2 separate regions of the Homo sapiens genome follow, and region 1 is linked to region 2. The links are contacts of gene promoters, found by promoter capture Hi-C in blood cells and fetal thymus (Javierre and others, 2016). All regions are on one chromosome and are shown on one strand. The core of a region is centred on a gene start or on the middle of the fragment in contact, and the rest is flanking DNA. Distances in the headings are between cores, read along the strand shown. Region 1 overlaps PRICKLE1 (prickle planar cell polarity protein 1). Region 2 holds the start of GXYLT1 (glucoside xylosyltransferase 1).

Evidence for each region. Contacts are between HindIII fragments. The CHiCAGO score rates a contact against its expected background, and 5 or more counts as called.
Region 1: a contact is called between a fragment that was not itself captured here and the fragment with the promoter of GXYLT1 in region 2, in 2 of 17 cell types (naive B cells and total B cells). The highest score is 6.6, in naive B cells.

Annotation. Positions count from the first base shown.
Region 1 is chr12:42,467,453-42,470,463 of GRCh38, forward strand. PRICKLE1 (prickle planar cell polarity protein 1) reads right to left here. Exons shown (of 8, transcript NM_153026.3): 3 at 2,794-2,907; 4 at 1,998-2,135; 5 at 1,174-1,377. Among named protein-coding and RNA genes, the nearest start is that of PRICKLE1, 120 kb to the right of the region's middle. RefSeq lists enhancers at 2,052-2,151, 2,162-2,211. The HindIII fragment of the contact is 902 bases long and covers 1,133-2,034 here.
Region 2 is chr12:42,143,381-42,146,416 of GRCh38, forward strand. It overlaps GXYLT1 (glucoside xylosyltransferase 1), which reads right to left and starts at 1,494. Exons shown (of 8, transcript NM_173601.2): 1 at 1,046-1,494. The coding sequence starts at 1,266. RefSeq lists silencers at 882-1,111, 1,192-1,691 and an enhancer at 1,852-1,921. The HindIII fragment of the contact is 13,899 bases long and covers 1-3,036 here.

The DNA of each region.
Region 1 (3,011 bases), core at 334-2,833, 320 kb after region 2:
ATGTTCAGCGGAGCATGGTGGCTCACCCTGGTATTCCCAGCATTTTGGGAGGCTGAGGGAGGTGAATCTCTTGGGGTCAGGAATTCGAGACCAGCCTGGCCAACATGGTGAAGCCCGCCTCTACTAAAAATACAAAAAAAAAAATTAGCTGGGCGTGGTGGTGGGCACCTGCAATCCCAGCTACTCGGGGGGCTGAGGTGCAAGAATCACTTGAACACGCGGGGCGGAGGTTGCAGTGAGCCAAGATTGCACCACGGCACTCCAGCCTGGGCAACAGAGAGCAACTCCATCCCAAAAAAATAAATCAAAACAAAACAAAAACAAAAATATGTTCAAATAGAACATTGTTGAAAAAAATGTATAAAGTAAATGAATGTATAAAAATAAAAACAAAGTTTATTGTCATAGATTGAAGGAGACTAAGAAGATACAACGAGTAAATGCAATGAAGCACCCTGGATTGATCTTGGATAAGAAAAGGAGCATCTGTTAAAACACTGGGAAAATCTAAACAAAGACTATGGTTTAGTTAATGGTATTACACTGCTGATAATTTCTTAGTTTTGATACATATATTATGGTTATGTAAGACGTTAGTGTCAGGGGAAGCTGGGAGAAGGGCATGCAGGATCTCTCTGTAATAGCTTTGCAACTCTTCTGTAAATCTAAAATTATTTTAAAATAAAAAGCTAAAGGGAAAAAATTTTTCCTTTCAAGCCATCATCCATTCCCACCTTCCCCGAGGGTAACTACTATTAATTTGGTATTTGTCTTTCCATACCTTTTCTGAGCATAAACAAATACATATATCATATTGTTTTTTAAATTCTTAACAAAAATGAGACCATCTACTACATGCTCTTCTGCAGCTTGTATTTTCTCACAACCCACTGAAGACATAATACTTATCAAAGTACAAAGACATCTGCTTCCCTTTCTATCAGGAAGGTGAAAAATTAATTGCGGTTTTGACCATTATGGCAAAAAACCGCAATTACTTTTGCAGCAACCAAATATAGATCATTTCATTGTATGAATGTACAGGATTATGTTTAAAACATGCACACAGAACAAAATCCAGGAAATTTTAGTATTTTGCTTGATGTAAACAGTGGAATATTGGCTTAATCTAAGCTTATTTTTCCCAGTGTGAAAGGATGAACTTTTTTTTACCTCGTCACATGCTGAGCACCGTGGTTTGAGCAGTTCTGCATGGTGCCTGCCACAGTGAATTTTTCCATCCTGATAAAAATAGATGAGGTCGACCAGCAGCTCATTACACGTGAAACAGACAAAACAGGATGGGTGCCAGCACACACCAGGGCCCGCACGGGAGGCGAACACTGCAACTTCACCTCCATTTATCTTCAAACCACACTACAAACAAATGGGTTTGAATGTAAAAGGATCATTTTTTAAAGACAGGATTCTCAGGCTTTCCTACTTTAGGATAAATCTCGAATTTGTCAGGAATGTATTTATTTTTGCTACCTCTTTTAGTGATTAAATAGCTCTTTAATGCTGGATTACTGGTGATTCTCCACTGTAAGGCACGTGTCTCAGACATACTACAACTATTTCTAAGGACGGTGTAATCTGATTCACACAAATAGTGGTTTTCCTGTGCCAGCCTCCTGCTGGATACATTTCCTACTCTGAGAACTGCCAGCAAAGATCTGAATGTCTTCATTATGTTTCTGCATCTTTTGAATACGAGATGTATCCTAGCACCTACCTCCATGCCAGGATCCTACCAAAGGCAGGATTTCACCCAATGTTTGCATAAGGGTGACTGACTCCTGCTGTCATACACAGCAGTGTAGCTAGTTACAAATATGAAACATGATTTGCTATTTAATAAAAAGCTAGGCTGTCTTTCTCTCATTTTCTGGAGGCTTTCAGGACCCACACCTCTGCTAGTCCAGTCACCTACCCCCGACTGTCCACCCCATCCACATCACTGCCACAAGCTACGCATCAGAGAAGGGGCTGCTCACCTGCTCACACACAGCATGCATGACTGCTCTGGACAGAAGCTTAATTGTTCCTCTTCCCAGTGCTTCTTTCTTCCGCTGAGCACTGAACACCTGCAACTCTTTTTTCTCCTCTTCACTCAAAGACTGGCAATACCGTACCTTCACAGAAAGCAAAACAGAAACACCACACTGAGTGCACAGTCTTTCTCACCAGTTCTCTACTTCCAGAGTTAGGGTTTCAGGAAGTGAAACAGTAAGTTTAGCTCGCCTGTGTCACACCCCCACGATTTTAAAATGACACCATATCTGAATTTTACAGCCTCTCTAGAAAAAGGGAAATGCAATGTGAAGGAATACTTTTTTTTTAAATAAGAAATGTTTAATTGAAAACCCTTATCAACACAGAATTAAAAAATATATATAGGACATTAACCTTTCCACAAAAGGTTTAAACTTGTTAATTGCCACTTTTACTCTCCATTCTACATGCACTCAACTCAACTGCAGGCCTGAATGACCATAAAGCATTCACTCTGGATGCAGGGGCTGGGAAATCTCAGGAATTTGTAGGTTCCTGATCATTGGTGGGTGGCTGCAAACACTATAAAAACCAACTTGTGTTAAGTTTATTACACTGATACTCTTTTCTCTCTTTCTCTCAAAGAATGGAAAGCTGTATTCTCTGGCCAAATTTTAACTAAAGAAAGGCAAAAGGGAGCCCTCGCCAGTGAGGAGTTGGGGTTTATGAGCAGCATCTCAATGCTTCTCATGCATTTTTTCTTCTTTTTTCTAATTAGCCTTCTTCCTGCTATTTTACCTCATTATCATGTGGTGGTAACTGGTACAAAAGCTGTTTAATCCGATGCTTCTCTCCGGGGCTGTTAACGTAAGGAACTTTTTCCTCTGGTAAGCAAGCAAAATAGAGCTGGATCTGCAAAAGAGACAGTGAGAATGGCATCAACATACAGAACTGAGCATCTCAGCTCACTTAATCTTTAAAAGTTACCTTTCCCTAGGTACAGGGTTTGGCCTCTT
Region 2 (3,036 bases), core at 244-2,743:
CTCAGGGTAAAAACATGACAAGTCCGCTTTCCACGCTGCTCCTCTGCCCAAACTTTCCCCTTTCATTCTGGGAATGACCATCGACTCTCAAAATGATGTTAAACAACAGCCCACAACTGATCTATACTCCCTCTTCCGACAAACCCTATACTTCTCTATATCAAAGCAGCATTTGCCAAGTCTTGGTAGGGAGCACTTCAGGTCATTCCCAGAGAGATGCCCATACATAAGGTGGAAGTGTCCATGTTGCAAGGCAGTGCAAACGCTCAGATTTCAAGCATTCATAATGCGTTGACAGAAACATTTTTTTTCTATTTAAATCTCATGTTGATTCCCACTCTGGCAGTGATTACGTCCTAAGTCATTACGTCGCTTTTTAAATACCAATTTGTCAAGAAAGGTAACTCCATCCCATCCAACAACAGACTTGAGCACGCCAAGTATCGCTCATTTTTCTTAATTTGCTCTAAGTTTCTTAATAAACTGAGTGTTTCCAAAAGAAAATTTCACAACCCGCACAAATGCCATTTCCAAATTTAACTAACCATGGCTAATACTTAGAAGTGTAAGCGTTAACACAGGAAAATCAGCATGAGGGACAAAATACACACACATATACACTCACACACACACACACAATCCTTAAACACTGAACTAGGGCGCCAGCCTCATGTTTAAATATCTCAACTTGAACTCCACTGAAACAAGAGGAAATTCTCACTAGCCAGGCAGCAGTAAGGCTTTTGTGGACACCTCTTATTTTCAAAGAACCCTCTTTTTAAAAAGTTGAAAATTAATTTCTAACTGCTTTAAAGGGCGCATGACTGGGTCAAAAGATAAACACAGAAAGTGTAGGACACTCTCAGGCGGGAGCAGCGCAGGTTTAGCCCCGGCCGGAGGGGAAGGAGGGAAATGAGTGAGGGGTCAGAGACAGGAGGAAAGACGCGGGAGACGCGGCACCCACCGGCGAGCAGCCCGGGCTAGGCCGAGCCCGCGCCCAGCGCCCCGCGCCCGCCGCGTCCCCCACACCGGGAACTGCCCGTACCTGTCCGACACGCCGGGATGCGCTGCGGGGCCCGCGACGCCGGCGCCTCTCACGGCGCCGCGTCCGCCGCCCGCGAGCCAGGAAGCCACCGCGGCCTGCGGCTTCCCGCCACCGCCGCCCGTTCCTTCTTCCAGGGACACGGCGAGCTGGCTGAAAGCGTAAAGGAGCGAGCAGAAGCCGCAGGCCACACACAGCACCACGACGCGCAGGTAGCGCCGCATCGCCCCGGCCGCGCTCCTCCTTCGCCGCCGCCGCCGCGCCCGCCCCGACGAACTGGAGCGGAGGGAGGGGCACCGCGCAGCCGCGGGCGCAACAAGTTCCTCACCCGCAGCCGCCGCCGCCGCCTTGCGCCCGCTCCCTTCCTTCCCTCCCCGCCCACCACCTAGGCGAGCGCAGTCGCGGCTCCGGAGCCGAAGGACTACCCGCCCGGAAGCCTGGACACCGCCTCTGCCGCCGCGCGCTCAAGGGTCAGCGGCAGCGACGCAACCCCGCCCCTCCCCCGGGCGGGAGGGCTGGACGCGCCGGCGCAGTTCGCGTGGGAGGGACGCAGGGCTGGCGCGCAGAGGGTGGTGTGAGTGCGCGGAACGCGGCGCGCCTGAGGGCTATAGCTAGCGCAGGCCGACGCGCAGGTGAATGGGAGCCCTGTGGGTCTCGACCGCCGAGAGAGGGGGAGCGAAAGCCTCAGGGCTCTGGAGGCAGTTGACCTAAATTCTAATTATGGTCCTTCCACATGGTAGTTTGTGACATTGGGCAACCTAAATTCTCTGAGCATGTTTCTTCGTCCCTAAAATGGAGCTACTATCCTCATCATGGGGTGGTTGTAAAGATTAAACTGTTTAACGCTCGAAAACCGCCTAACACTTAGAAGACACTTGACTAGGCCAGTTTCCTCTCCATCCTCCCCCAGCCTCTAAGTTTCTGTGATACTATAATGTGCACGAGCCATTTTCACCCCGATAAGCTCATTGCTTCGTGTGTTTGGTATGCGGACCTTACCTCTTGCCTCCCAGCAGACAGTGAGTTCCTGTAAGGCAGGGCTCTTCCCTTTGACCTTTTTGACCTCCCTCACAACTCATTATTTTCATGTGCAAAACAATTAGTATTCTCTCCACAGAGCTTCTTTCTTCCCCAGTTCTTCTCCCTCTTCTTCTGTGTTTCCACTACGTTCATTCATTGACCATTTATAAAGCATCACTTGTGCCAAGCTCTGTGTGAGTACCTAGGGGTATAAAGAGGCCTAAGTGGAGCGTGGGTGGGACAGCGGATACTTGTAAATAAGCGCAACGCAGTGATAACAGACTTAAGATCCAGGCCTGTAAGGGTGTGGGCATACACACAAAGGAACAATCAGTTCTATCTGTGAGTATGGTCAAGAGAGACTTCATAGCAAAGGTGGCGCTAGAGTCTTGAGTCGGGTAAGGGAAGTAATTCCAGGCTGAAGGATCAATAAACAGGCTCTTGTGTAGGGAACTGTTGAGAAGTTTGATACCACCAGCTAAGTGAATGCAAGAGAGGGTATGATGAGCGATAAGCGCGTAGAAGGGGCCAGATATTTGAGTGCTTTGTTTAGCACACCAAGGAGTTTGAATTTAATCTGCAAGACATTAGTGAACCATTGAAGGGTTTTTAAATAGGGAAGTAACATGATCACAATTGCATTTTAGAGAGCAGATTCTGGCTGTAGTGTGGAGGCTGAAACAGAGAGAGGAGAGATTGGAGGCAGAAAGCAGCACCAGTGCCAAAAAGTGAGGGAAGGGATACTTAAAAATACACACACACACGAACACACATTCATGGGGAAAAATCATGCGTTTAACTGCTGAAATTGCATCTGGGGCGTTGAAAAGTTTGGCCATGAGATACAAGGTGGGGAAATGCTGCGCAAAATAGTAGCAGTCTCCATTTGGATCCTTGGCTCCCTATACCAAAAAAGTAGTGGTTCTGTGACCATGATAAAGTCACTAAACAAATTTAAGGTTCAACTTCCTCCC